4 separate regions of the Homo sapiens genome follow, and all the other regions are linked to region 1. The links are contacts of gene promoters, found by promoter capture Hi-C in blood cells and fetal thymus (Javierre and others, 2016). All regions are on one chromosome and are shown on one strand. Each heading gives the region's core, a stretch centred on a gene start or on the middle of the fragment in contact. The rest is flanking DNA. Distances are from core to core; before and after follow the strand shown. Region 1 holds the start of CPNE5 (copine 5). Region 2 holds the start of STK38 (serine/threonine kinase 38). Region 3 holds the start of PXT1 (peroxisomal testis enriched protein 1). Region 4 holds the start of ETV7 (ETS variant transcription factor 7).

Region 1 (3,122 bases), core at 577-3,076:
CTCTGTCCCTTGCTGCCTGTTCCAGGAGGCAGAACCCAGTCCAGCTGATTCTGAGCCATGGGGAAATTGTAACAGGCAGAGGAATGTGTTCTTGTATTTATCTTTGACTGACAGTATCTGATGTTCCAGGAATTGACTTCAAACAGAATCCGGAGGAGCCCCTTATGGTCCCGCTGCCACAAACAAGGCCCAGAGAGCGCAACTCTGCCCAGCCCAGCACCAGGTTTTTGGCCTCCCCGCCGGCCCGAGGCACATCGGCTTCGATGTGCCAGGCGGTGGGCGAGGAAGTGGAGGTTCCAGCTCGGCAAAGCTTAGGCTGAGGCTGAGGATGGGCTAGAGTCAAGTCTACGTGTGCAGCCTTACTCAGGGAGACGCCTCTGCGCTGCAACCTCATGCCCGGGAGGGCAAGGCTGGGCTAGGGCGGGGGATCGCGAGGGGCTTGGCTGGGAAGAGGACTGCAGGAGAGGTGTCCCAACTCTCCCCTCGCTCGCCAGGCACACAGCACGCGCCTACTCGGTGCTGGCTGCATAGAAGCCCAGGGAGCTCGGGCCGATCTCCCAGTCTGGTTGCCACCAGACTGGGTGGCAGGAGCTTCTAGACCTGGAGGCTGGCTCAGTCGTGTGGTCACGACGGGCGGGGGAGTGGAAGGGCGCTGGCGCGTGGTTTCGGCAGCCGACTTGGCGAGGCCGCGGCTGGCGGGAACCACGGATGGGGGAGGCGCCCATGCACCGACCCCACCTGGGCCACTGGGAAACCGAGGTAGTCCCTCCTGGCACTGGGGTCGCCCCCACACACCTCCCCAGAAGGAGATGTAGGGTCTGTTTCTGAACTGAGACCCGCCCCCGAGTAGGGCGCACACTCAGCAGAGACCCTCCACACCCAAGCCCCTGGGAGGGGATCTTTTTTGCACACCTCCCTCCCACTTATGCCCCCTCTCAACCCTGCATAGACCTTTCTCAAAAAGGCGCCCGTTGGTTCCCATAACCCTCCCCCTCCCCCAGGATGGAGACCCCTGATGGGAGATAGGGGTGGTGAGAGGGGGCGGGCGCAAATGAAGATGCGCGCGACCAGGACCACCTCTTGCTGTCACCCGCCACGTCCCCAGCATCTGGACCGCGTCCCCCGGCCCGCCACGCGCGCACACACACACACACGCGCACACACACACGCTCACACTCACCCTGCGCGCAGACCCCGCCCGCGGCCCCGCCCCGGCCCCTGCGGGCGCCCCCTCTGGCGTTCCCGGGCGGCGGGAGGCTGCGGCTTCGGGCAGATTTGATTTTCCCGCAGCCCGGGCGCCCCGGAGCCGAAGCCCGAGCCGAGGAGGTGGCGCTCGCAGCCGCGTCTCAGCCCCGTCGCCGCCGGCGCCAAGACCCAGGGAGAGGCGGCGCAGCCCGGGCGCTCGGGCTCCGCGCTGCCGGCGCCCCGCCACCCCCGCCGCCAGCGCCCCATCCGGCGCCTCCCGCTCCTCACGCCCCTCTCCCTGTCTTCTGCATCCCCTCTACCTCTGCCCACAGACGCGCGTCCCTCTCCTGGTGCCCCTCTCCACGACTCCGCGTTTCCCTCCCGGTGCCCTCTCCCCGAGCCCCTCTCCCCGCGCCCCTCTCTGCCTTCCCCGCTGTGCCCCCGCTCCCTGGGCTCCTTGCCCTTCCCCACTGGGCCCCTAGCCTCCTCGCGGCGTCACCCGAGCCCCCTCCTCGATCCGCGGCCCCCGCTCCCTCCGCCCTCTTCCCTCTCTCACTTCCCACGCCCCCTCTTCGCGCTCCTCTCTCCTCCCCTTGCCGCCCAGCCCAGGCTCTGGAGTTGGGGGAGAGCCCAGGGCTCCAGTCGCTCCGGAGGAGGCGTGAATCGCGCAGGGATTGACTAATTTGGGGTGGGGGGTGCGGTGGGCGATGGAGCAGCCTGAGGACATGGCGTCGCTGAGCGAGTTCGACTCCTTGGCGGGCAGCATCCCGGCCACCAAGGTGGAGATCACCGTGTCCTGCAGGTGAGCCTCCCGCTGGCCGGGTCCCCTTGCCCCGGCCCTGGACGCAGAGCCCCGCGGCCCCTGCCGCTTCGATCCTAAACCTCCGCGCGCCCCCTTCCCAGAGTGTCCTGGTCTCCAGGACTGCGCCCCTGCCGATCTGCCAAGAGCCCCTGTCCTGTCCAGCTGCGGGTGGCGACGGCAGAATAGGAAGCCAGGCTGGGGTCATATCCCAGAAAGTTTGCGCTCCAGGCTGTTGCATCGAGGAGATATGAAGACACAGGAACAGGGGGTCCAGGCACCCAAGTGGGGAGAGGGAGTTGGTAAAAGGCTGTACTACGGTCTCTGCTCAGGCTATCTCTGATCACCCCATCCCCAAATCACGAAGTGAGTGATTTGCCCCCATCCCTCCCAGGCTCGTCCACCCTCTCCCTTCTGTGCCCTCCTCTCTTCTCTCTTTGCCCCTTCTTTGCCCCAGCATCCTGATCCTCCCCTCACCAGTCTCCCCCACCCCACTGTCCTAGACTCTAGGATTTTAAAGCCTTCCTTCATCTCTATCAACAACGAAATCGACTCCTGGAAAAGGATCAGATTGACTCATTCATACTAAGGTGTGGATACATGATAACAACTTAAAGTGGCACCATTAAAAAAATAACTTGGGTCAAAAATCTTAAGCCAAAGGAATAGAACACTGATTGTGAAACTGTAGAGTCCAACAGAGGAGGAGGGGGAATATTTTTGTGGGCTACCACGCCCAAATCTTCACTCATGTCACACAGGGTTTGGGGGTAACTTCTCTGTCTAAGAGCTGGGTCGACCCCAGGTTCTCCTAGCTAGGGGAAGGCTGCCCCTGGCAGTAAGAGGGTATGGGTGGCAAAGGGGGATTTTTCCCTAGTTCAGTCTCTCTGTGGCTGGCCTAGGATCATGTGCTGCCACGCAAGCATCACCCACTTTGAGGTTCCCCCACAGAGGCCATGCCCCCTGCCCCAGATCACCGACAGCATTTCTGGAGCCCTGGCTGTGCCCTTGTTCGAAATCACCCATCTCATCCTCTTCCAGGTTGCTCCTTGGTCAGACCCTCCATGAGAGGTAACCTTGTTGCCCCCCAGTCCTGTATTACAAAGTTGTGGCATTGATGAGGTGTAGGTAGAGCTGG
Region 2 (3,340 bases), core at 130-2,629, 290 kb after region 1:
GTGAGGACCAAGTGAGATTAAATAAGTGAAAGTTGTTTGTAAACTGTAAAGCATTATGCAGACATCTTGGACTATTATTAAAAGCTTAAGAATGGGTAGGACTTTGACAACAGGCATTTGGGGAGAAGGGCCTCTGGGCAGAGAGAATGAAAGGCGAAGTGATTGATTGATATGTATGTAGTGACTGATTGAGACAGGGTCTCCCTCCGTTGCCCAGGCTGGGGTGCAGTGTCATGATCATGGCTCATAGCAGCCCTGAACTCCTGGACTCAATCAATCCTCCTGCTTCAGCCTCCACAGTAGGTGGGACCACAGGCACTTGCCACCATGCTGGCCAATTACAAAAATTTTTTTAGAGGTGGATTCTCCTTATGTTGCCCAGACTGGTCTCAAACTCCTAGGCTCAAGCTATCCTCCCACCTGGACCTCCCAAAGTGCTGGAATTACAGGCAGGAGCCACCGCGCCTGGCGAGAAGTGATTTTTGTTAAGAGGCTAGACAAAAGGAAACTGGGCTTTGAAGATGAAATGAATGAATAACTCGCAGCACATGCTTCCTTCTCTCCCTAGATGGCCCCTTTGCAGGCAGTCAGGGACCATGTCTCGTTCATCTTAGTTTCCAGGAGCTTGACACTTTGTAGTTGAGGGCTTTGTGCTCCATTCTCAAGAAACGACAAGTGCCCAAAGGCTATTAAACTTGGGACCTCTTTACCCCCAAAAGTAGTACAGAATAAGAGTTGGGTGGCCTTGAAAAGCACCTTCTTCTGTCCACACTGGGTCGCCCGCTGGGTAACCTCCCAAACCTATGAGAGCTCACCTTATCCCAGGTAAGGTCCTTACTTTAAGGAAGAGGAGGGGGGCCAAGGGCTCCAGCAGACCTGTTCTACACGGGGTAGGGGGGTGGGTGGGAACTATACAGGTGACAACATTTCATAGAACTACACACACACTCACACACACGCACATGACTGCATACCCAACAGGTTAAATCCGAGTGTGGTCTGTAATGAAGTTAATTGTATTGGTTTAGTTAATTGTATTGGTTTAGTTAATTGTATTGTGCGAATGTCAATTTCCTGGCTTTGAGAATGTTGTATCTTAAGAAAAATGTTGAGGTAAGCTGGGTGGGTGATGGTATAGGGAACCTGTATGTATTAATTTTGCAACTTCTTGTGAGTCCATAATTATTTCGAAGTAAAAAGTAAAACAAAAGAAAACAATGGAACTTCCCCCTCAGCCCAGCCTACTTCGAGACCGCCTCACACTCACACATCTGGCCTCACCCAGGTCCAGCCAGCCCTAGGCAGGGGGTGAAGGGAGGGGCAGGGCGGGGCCACGCAAGCGCAGTTCCGCAATCCCGGCCGCTCCGGGAAGTCGCGCATGCGTAGTCTCGGCCCCGGGCTGCCGCGCCAGCCCGTCTCCGCGGCGGGGGACCGGGCTGCCTTGGCCCCTCAGCGCTCGCGTCTTTTCCGGCAGTTGGAACGCTTCCTGTTGTCCTCACCCGTAACCGCCTGTTGCCCCCTGTCTCAGAGTCCCTCACGCGTCCCCTCCCGTCTTTGGCTCGTTGGCTGCCGCCGCCGGGGCTTCGCCAGCCTTCAAGTCGAGACTACTGGCCGAAGGGGCGTCTGCGGCTCTCCGCCGTCCCCAGCCCTGCCTCTCCCTGGGCTCTGGTGAGTTGCTTGCTGCCGCCGTCTTCACTCCATCCCGGGGTTTTTCCTTTATCTCCTCCTTCCCCAACCTCCGACTCCTTCTTGGGCTTTCTCCTGCTCGCCGGCGCCCTCTTTCAAGCCCTAACCTCTCAGCCTCTTGGCCTCTCTCCGCCCCTCTCCTTAACCCCCTTCTTCCCCCGTCTCCAGATGCCCCTTGTTGGCCCTCTCCACATTTTTCCAGTCCCAGCCTTTCCACCCCATCCTTTATCTTTCTCCTTTTGCAGTTGGAGCGGGAGCCAGGCTTTCCTTTCCATGTTGCCACCTTTGTCTGCTCCCTGCCACCAGTCAGTCCCTCAGGGATCTCGGTCATCACCGGTTTTTATCTCCTTTTCCTTCTTCTGGGGTCTGTGAACTGTGGTCTGAGGCAGAGATGTCGAAAGCCCCCCTTGGGGTGTGGTATCTTTGAGTCGGCTCCTTTCTCCGTTAGTCTTAGGATACTGGGCTTCAGATAAGCTTCAAATCACAGGAAAAGGCAGGGAAAATTCTTAAGAAGAGAGTGGAAAAGCAACAGCCAGAGGAAAAAGTCGGTAAGGGCTTAGAGGAAAGTCTGTGTCAGAAAGCGGGCAGAACGGCCGGCAGAGAGACCAGATCTCTCAGTTCATTCTGAAACGACTAAAAGACTCGGAGAGAAACTTGTTCTGTTTGAAATGCACCGAGGAGGGTTGGAGTGAAGTAGACCCTGAGTGTCTCCACCCTTTGAGCTCACCCTGCCTCTGAATTAGCCAGGCAATATATTTGGTTTCCCTAAACATAAAACAACCACCACCTCGATAACAGGCTCTCCTCCCCACCCTAAACGTTAGATACCAGCTTCCTCCTAAGAGGAGAGAACGCTATAGCAAACCATTTCATGTCCCAGCCCTATCCCCCATCACACATAAACTCCTAGGAATGGACATCAAAAATGAGTATATTTCCTAGTTAATCTTTCTTAAGGTGCTAAGTGCATAGCACTGTGCATGAAATGGGGGAAGAATATTAAAACAAGTATAAGACATGGTGCTTGCTTTCTAGTGTAGGTAGAGATTACAGTTTAGTAGGATTTACAGTTCAGTGGGAGAGATTAGACATGCGACTTAAGCAATAATCTTAGCTCCAATGTTGAATCGTCCAAATGAAAGATAATGGATTGTCAGTCGCAAAGAAATAAAGTCCATATTGTTGAGAGAGGGTTGTTTATAGTGATCACAGAGTACCATTGTAAAGTCAGTCAGTTAGCCAGGCATAACCATATAGATTGAATCACATAATGGTTTTCATTTGACTTCCTTTTGAGTTTGCAGGCCTTACACCTGACTTTTATGAGGATCAGTTCCTTTTGTTAATTTTTTAAAACTTTGAAGAATTCCTCAGCCACCTATTATTTCCTAATTCTTCAGAGTTGAAGAATGAAACAAATGGGGCAAAGGCCTCCAATGGCTTCTAGGTCAGGGCAGGAAGGCTTGAATTGTGGAAAGCCTGATGGATAGTCCTGTCTTAAGAAAAGTTGGTTGACCCAGTAAATCTATGAATTGCTATAGGGCAATATTAATTACATCTTTTGATTAAAGGATATTAGAATTAGGCTAAATTTTTTATATTACAATAGAGGAAGTGGAGGAGGGTTTAAAGAAAGGTCAAAGGGAAGGAGAGT
Region 3 (3,162 bases), core at 40-2,539, 400 kb after region 1:
AATCAAATTTATGGAAGAGGTGCTAGGGTACTGCAACCTTATTACTAAGGAACAATCTTCTGTTTCAGAACTATGGCCTAGGAATTGGGGTTTCAGGTGGGGGCCTTGAGCGGAAGTCCTCTGACTCTGGATTCATCACATCCGACAGACACTACTACAACACTTTGTTTTGAAGACCATTAAAAAACTACCTCAACTTCTCGCACAGCGAACAGGAACAAAACTAAGGACTCTGGGACATATTTTCATAAGCTGGTTAAACAGTTCCTTCACAGCCTTGTTTATCATGTTAGTTTGTTCACTAGATTCTTATTTAAAAATAAATCTCTTCAACTGAGGAATTTTCAGAAAGAATCACAAACTCCAAAATAGAAGAGTTTTCTCATAGTGCAGAACTGGGCTTCTAAACCTGAAGACACTGCTATAAAAAGCAAAGTTTTATTTAAAAGAAAATTGCTGGTTAAGGCTTTCCCCAGCTCTTTTGCACTCAGAGCCACGGATGAAAGCTGGCAATTTGCGGGTGGCAGGGAAGGAAGACGCGGAAACAGGGCTGAAAAGACCGAGCAAAATGCGCTCGGCTCCAGAGTTCAGGAGGAAGTCCCCACCAACTACCTAATTTTTAATGGAGCCAATTAATTGCCAGAAAAACCGCGTCTGCAAATGTTTTGCCAGTCAACACTCCAGGTTCTCGCCATTCCTCTCCGGCGGGATGAACCACCCGAGGCCTGCAAAAAGCAGTCAAGCAGTCAAGTTACACTTCAGCTGTGCCCACCACCTGGGCGCAGCGTCGCCTCCCTCCCCAGGATCACCAGACTCTGCCCTCCGCGCGGAAACAGGAGCCCATCAAGCCGCTGCCCACAGGTTCCTCGCGCCCAGCTCAGCCCCGCGGCCTTTCGACTCGGGGGTCCGAACCGCCGCCGCGTCCGGAGGAGACGCCCCCTCGGCCACAAAGGGAAGACTCGGGCCACGCCCGCCGCCACACTCTCCCTGCCCGGTCTTCGCGCCCGAAACCGTACCGCGCCGCCACTTACTCGTCGCTCCCCGCCGCGCTGTCCCGCTCGGGGCTGGAATCCGCCCGGGAGGCGCGCGCAGGCCGCGCAGCCAGAAGCCGCAGCCGGGACCGGCTGTGCCGCAGCGGCGCGCGCCCCCCGCCCCGGACCGCGCGGCCACGCGGCTGAGTCACCCAGCGCTTCACGTTAAGAGTCCCCTCCGCGCGTGGCACGCCGGGAAGGCCGTGTCTGGGGACCCCGTCCGGGGCCGCACCGTAAATGGGTGTCGCCTTTCCTCCAGTCCACTCTGCACCCAACCTCAGCGGGCGCACTTTTCTGAGTTGCGCATACCCTCTCAATTATTAAAGGTTGCAGACGGAAAAGTTAGTAGTTTTCGGAATTGTAGAATACGCTCGTGCAGCGCCAGGACGGCTAATGCTTACCCGAAAATGTGGAACCCTGATCTCCCCATGCGTGGAGCGAGGTTGGAGGTAGCGTAGTAAGAATACTGGAGTTGCTTAAACGCATTTGCTCGAAAGTCACTACCCTGGATATACATTCTGGCCAAAAGAAAGGGGGAAAAACTCCACATTTTTCTCAAATACTGAGTTTCATGAAGGTACCTGCTATTACAAAGGTGTATTACAAATTTTAAATCAACCGGAAGCAAGTTACTGGGAAAACTGTGTTATGAGTAAAAGATTTCAGCATTCAAAAAACATCTATATATGGTCCATGTCCTATGAACCAAATGCTGGAAAACCCAAAAGGAAGTTCTTATTGTCACGGTTTCTAGTGGCTTTTGTACTTTTAAAAATTACACTAGGCCGGGCTTGGTGGCTCACGCCTGTAATCCTTGCACTTTGGGAGGCCGAGGCGGGCAGATCACCTGAGGTTGGGCATTCCAGACCAGCCTGGCCAACATGATGAAACCCTGTCTCTGCTAAAAATACAAAAATTAGCCGGGCGTGGTGGTGGGCGCCTATAACCCTAGCTGTTTGGGAGGCTGAGGCAGGAGAATCACTTGAACCCAGGAGGCAACTGGGAGGTTGCAGTGAAGTTCCCTCTCAAATATATATATATATGTCTATATATACTAATTAAATATACTGATTATGCAAACTATTTGTAAATTGTTGAAAGCTCTATAAACTAATAATAGCACAAATTTTAAAATTCGAAGTCGATTCTCCTTTTCCTTACAAGAGACTCTCTGAAAACTAATTTGGAATTGGATTAGAATTGGTGTTGAAGTGGAAGGAATGTAAGAAAATAGTTTGACTCAGTAGGTTTCACACGGTTAACGGATACTTGTATAGCAAATTTGTTTTATCAGGGTCAAAAAATTTAATTTTCAAAACTGAAGACATAAATTTTTTCATTATAATTTGGTCTTAGAGGCCTAGAGGGTCATTTTCCATTTCTATTCTCCCTCGTTTATGACTATAAAGTATGCAGGACTGTATTGTGTTTATCTCAACATGGACTAGGCTGTGAGGCTGCACTCGTCATCTGTAAGTCAGTCTCACGTCCCCATGGTGACTCAGCTTCCCTGCTGCTTGCGTCAGTGGCTCTGCCCTCCCAGCACTTCCGGGCTGGCAGAAGAGCTAGATTGGAGAATCCTGTAAGGGCTCTCCTTTGCCTCTGCCAGAAGTGAGTGGCCTTTTCACTTCTGCTGACGTTTCACTGTCCTGAACTAGTCACCAGGCTCAACCTGACTGACTCTAAGAAGGCTGTGAGATATAAATTCCTGTATGCCTGGAGAAAAGGAATATGAAAAAAGATTTAGTAAACACATGGCTATAAACCAATTTGAGTGAGTTATAGGCTCCAAACTTTACAACAGTAGCAGCATAGAGGATTGTTCAAACTAATGCCTTTATTTCCATTTTTATAAAGTACAGTGTTACAGCCTTTGAGTCAAAGAAAAATAAAAAACCTTCTGATATTCCTGCAAAACAGTTCTTGAAACAAATTCTTCCTTTCTGGAAAGATTCCTTCCCGTAGATTTGTATATTGTCTTTCTTTTTTTTTTTTTTTTTCTTTTTGTGGAGAATGGAGTTCTTATTCTGTTGCCCAGGCAGGTCTTGAACTCCTAGGCTCAAGCTATCCTCCTGCTTCTGCCTCCCTAAGTTTGGGGATTACAGGCATGAGCCACTGCACTGGCTGCAGA
Region 4 (3,056 bases), core at 540-3,039, 450 kb after region 1:
TTCAGTTAAATGAATGTACATAATTTGGCTGGGTGTGGTGGCTCACATCTGTAATCCCAGTGATTTGGGAGCTGAGGTGGGAGATCACTGGAGCCCAGGAGTTGGAGGTTAAGGTGGGCTTTGATGGCACCACTGCACTCCAGCCTGGGCGACAGAGTGAGACCCTGTCTCTAAAAAAAAAAAAAAAATAGAAAATTAAAATTAAAAGAAATGAATGTGCATTAGTTTATCAAGCCTCCTTTTGTGGACACCTGAGTTATTTCTCATACTTTGCTATTATAAACCATGATTAAATAAGTAACTATGTATACTTTGGATATTTGTTGAATAAATTTCTGGTAGGCAGATTGCTGGGTGAAAGGAAAATGCATTTGTAAATTTGCCAGACCCCGCTGTGGGGTTGCACCACTTTACCTCAGCTTTTCCAGCAGATTATGTTAGTAAACTTTTAAATTTTTGCCAAATTTATGGGTAAAAATTTCTATCTCAGAATAACTTTAATTTGCACATTTAAAATAGTGAGTTTGTCTGAGCATCTTTTTCTTTCTCTGCTGCCCAGGCTGGAGTGCAGTGGCACAGTCACGGCTCACTGCAGCCTCCAACTCTCAGGCTCAAGCGATCTTCCATCCTCAGCCTCCTGAATAGCTGGGGCTACAGGTGTAGCCCCACCATGCCCGGCTAATTTTTTAAATTTTCAGTAAAGACAGGATCTCACCATGTTGTTCAGACTGGTGTCCAACTCCTGGGCTCAAGCGATCCTCCCACCTTGGCATCCCAAAGTGCTGGGATTACAGGCATGAGCCACTGCACCCTGGGCATCTTTTTGTATATTCAGGAGCCATTTGGCATTTCCTTTTATGTGGACTGTTTATTCATATCCTTTGCTCATTTTTTTTTCCTACTGGGTTTCTGGCCTTGTTCTTACTGGTTTCTTATTGCTGGCCTAGAGCTTGTGATGATATACCAGTGCTAAGCCTACTTTGTAACAGCGTCTACACCCTCAGATTTTCAGCAGAAGGTTGTTAATGCTTTTCTTTCCTTTTCTTCGGTGTCTTCTGGTTTGTTTTTATGCGCACAACCTCTCTTGAGACAGGGGGAGCTGAGACAGATGGAAAGGGTGATGGGTGGGCAGGCACCAACCCCGGAGCACCCAGAGGCCCAGGAAAAGGTGTCAGTCGGGATCTCCGAGTAGTCTGGCCCTGCTCAGGAGAGCACAGCCGCTCTGATGGTGGTGCGACGGTTCCGGACCTGTGGGGCCTCAGCGGGGCCAAACGGCAGGCCGAGACAGTATCGGGGCCGGGAAGGTCACTCACCCCTAAAGGGAGAGGCACCATGCGAGGCCCCTTCCTATCCTATGTGCGGAGACTCACAGGGTCCTTCCTGGTCCTGGGCTCGGGACCGTGAGAGACGCAGTTGGTTCCGAGTTCAGGACTAGGGGTCCCCTTAGATCCTCAGATCCTGCAGAATCCCGGCTCTGCCCCAGTGGGAGCCAAGGCCAGGTCGCCAGAGGGACTGTCCGCCGGCTGGAGGCTGTGTGCAGGACCCACGCCTCCCAGGCTAGCGAGCGGGCAGCGCCCCGGTGCTGCGCTCCCACGGGGCCGGCCCCTGCCCTGCCCTGCCCTGCTCCTAGCCCGCAGCGGCGCAAGTGGAACCGCATCCCGCTCTTTCGTTTTCGTTTCCCGGAAGGATAGCGATTACCGGAGCGCCTCGCGCGCCTGCCCGCCTGCGGAGGACCCGGGCGCACACGCCTTGGCGCTTCTCGAAAGAGATTTCCTCCCACGCGACCTTCCAGTTCTCGGAGCCAGGTTAGGGGTTTGGCGGAGGAGGACTGCGGGGCGCGGGCCTAGGGCCCCAGCAGCCACAGCCAGGGGAGCGCTCAAGACAGAAAGCCGGTGGCTTCCTCACCTCCACCTGTAATGCAGGTAAGAGCCTGGCGGCTGAACACGCAGCGCGCACGCAGAGCCACCTGCTCCCGCATCCTTTCCTCACCACCTAGATTTCCAAACCTATTTTATCAGACCTTTTACCTGGCGGGAATCTCTCTTTCCAACACATTCCTAAACCTCACATCCATCCCTCACTCACTTCCCCTTCCACCTCCAGACGCGGGTCACCGCCCCTGACTCTCTCGGTGTCATACACAGCTCTGAAGGCATCACGCACAGCCCCTGCGGGCCCTTTCCGCAGCCCCCTTACCACTGGTCGCCCCTACACCAACCAGATGTGAGGTCTTTGGAAGTTCGTGCGCCAGCCAGGTCCTCACAGCTGGTGAACGCATTCTCGCAGGGAGCCCCTCTTTAGCAGCCTCTCCCCACTCGCCGGTTTTCTAGGTGCCTCGAGACTGCCCCCAGAGCTGGCGCCCCGTCCCACTCCAAGGCCTTTCTCCACTCCCCTCTCGCCAGGACCCATACCCATTATCAGACCCTTCCCTGGCCTCCATGCTGAAACCCAGGAGTCTGATCCTCAGCAGCTCCGTGGCTGGCGTTTCCCAGGCAGTTACAGCCTCGGAATTCCCCGCTCCTCTTACTTGGATGAGGACAGAGGAGTAGACAAAGAGCCTCCTGCAAGCCTCCTTGGCAAGTCCGAGGCAAGTCCTGTGCCTTGAGCCCCTTCTCCAGCAAGGCAAGCTTCCCTTTCCCCACCAGGAGGCAACCCCTGAGGTCTGATTACTTGGGAAACAGCACCAAAGGGGGACCGGCTGGAAATGAAGTGAGAACGACCCGGAAAGGTGTTGAATCCCCTTTCGCAGCAGCCAAGGCTTCTGGAGTTTGCTTTGCTGGCTCCGATCCAAATTCTCTCTCGGCAGATATCTCTCCTCGGATCCCAAGAGATGAATGTAAAGCTTTTGACAATCCTAGAGTGAAAAATGACTTGATGGAGCTGGTTTCACTTTTCCTTTCCGTGCTGTGGCAGCCTGTGGCTGGGCATGAGCCCGAAGGAGCTTCCTATTCCTACAAAATCCTGCCACTTTCTTCATTTTCTCATCTGAATGGATGAACCCCGTCATCTCTGGGGGCCATGCTGATTGTTGAATTGTAAAGATACAGGCTTCCCGT

What was found. The method cuts DNA at HindIII sites, captures the fragments that hold promoters and counts their contacts. A CHiCAGO score of 5 or more calls a contact.
Region 2: a contact is called between the fragment with the promoter of STK38 here and the fragment with the promoter of CPNE5 in region 1, in 2 of 17 cell types (naive B cells and total B cells). The highest score is 6.2, in naive B cells.
Region 3: the fragment with the promoter of PXT1 here is called in contact with the fragment with the promoter of CPNE5 in region 1 in 4 of 17 cell types (total B cells, monocytes, neutrophils and 1 more); the score reaches 8.9 in total B cells.
Region 4: a contact is called between the fragment with the promoter of ETV7 here and the fragment with the promoter of CPNE5 in region 1, in 5 of 17 cell types (erythroblasts, total B cells, naive B cells and 2 more). The highest score is 7.0, in erythroblasts.

The regions. Positions count from the first base shown.
Region 1 is chr6:36,838,148-36,841,269 of GRCh38, reverse strand. It overlaps CPNE5 (copine 5), which reads left to right and starts at 1,826. Exons shown (of 21, transcript NM_020939.2): 1 at 1,826-1,987. The coding sequence starts at 1,893. RefSeq lists an enhancer at 1-468 and a silencer at 1,153-1,362. The HindIII fragment of the contact is 11,867 bases long and covers 313-3,122 here.
Region 2 is chr6:36,545,518-36,548,857 of GRCh38, reverse strand. It overlaps STK38 (serine/threonine kinase 38), which reads left to right and starts at 1,379. Exons shown (of 14, transcript NM_007271.4): 1 at 1,379-1,668. RefSeq lists a silencer at 1,234-1,573 and an enhancer at 1,321-1,844. The HindIII fragment of the contact is 2,076 bases long and covers 87-2,162 here.
Region 3 is chr6:36,440,981-36,444,142 of GRCh38, reverse strand. It overlaps PXT1 (peroxisomal testis enriched protein 1), which reads left to right and starts at 1,289. Exons shown (of 5, transcript NM_152990.4): 1 at 1,289-1,608. It overlaps KCTD20 (potassium channel tetramerization domain containing 20), which reads right to left and starts at 1,143. Exons shown (of 8, transcript NM_173562.5): 1 at 1,032-1,143. RefSeq lists enhancers at 26-85, 691-790, 2,275-2,822 and silencers at 951-1,240, 2,399-2,468. The HindIII fragment of the contact is 5,749 bases long and covers 1-3,162 here.
Region 4 is chr6:36,386,402-36,389,457 of GRCh38, reverse strand. ETV7 (ETS variant transcription factor 7) reads left to right here and starts at 1,789. Exons shown (of 8, transcript NM_016135.4): 1 at 1,789-1,922. The coding sequence starts at 1,917. It overlaps ETV7-AS1 (ETV7 and PTX1 antisense RNA 1), which reads right to left and starts at 2,838. Exons shown (of 2, transcript XR_926758.3): 1 at 2,528-2,838. RefSeq lists a silencer at 1,559-1,768 and an enhancer at 1,895-2,718. The HindIII fragment of the contact is 3,834 bases long and covers 1-2,629 here.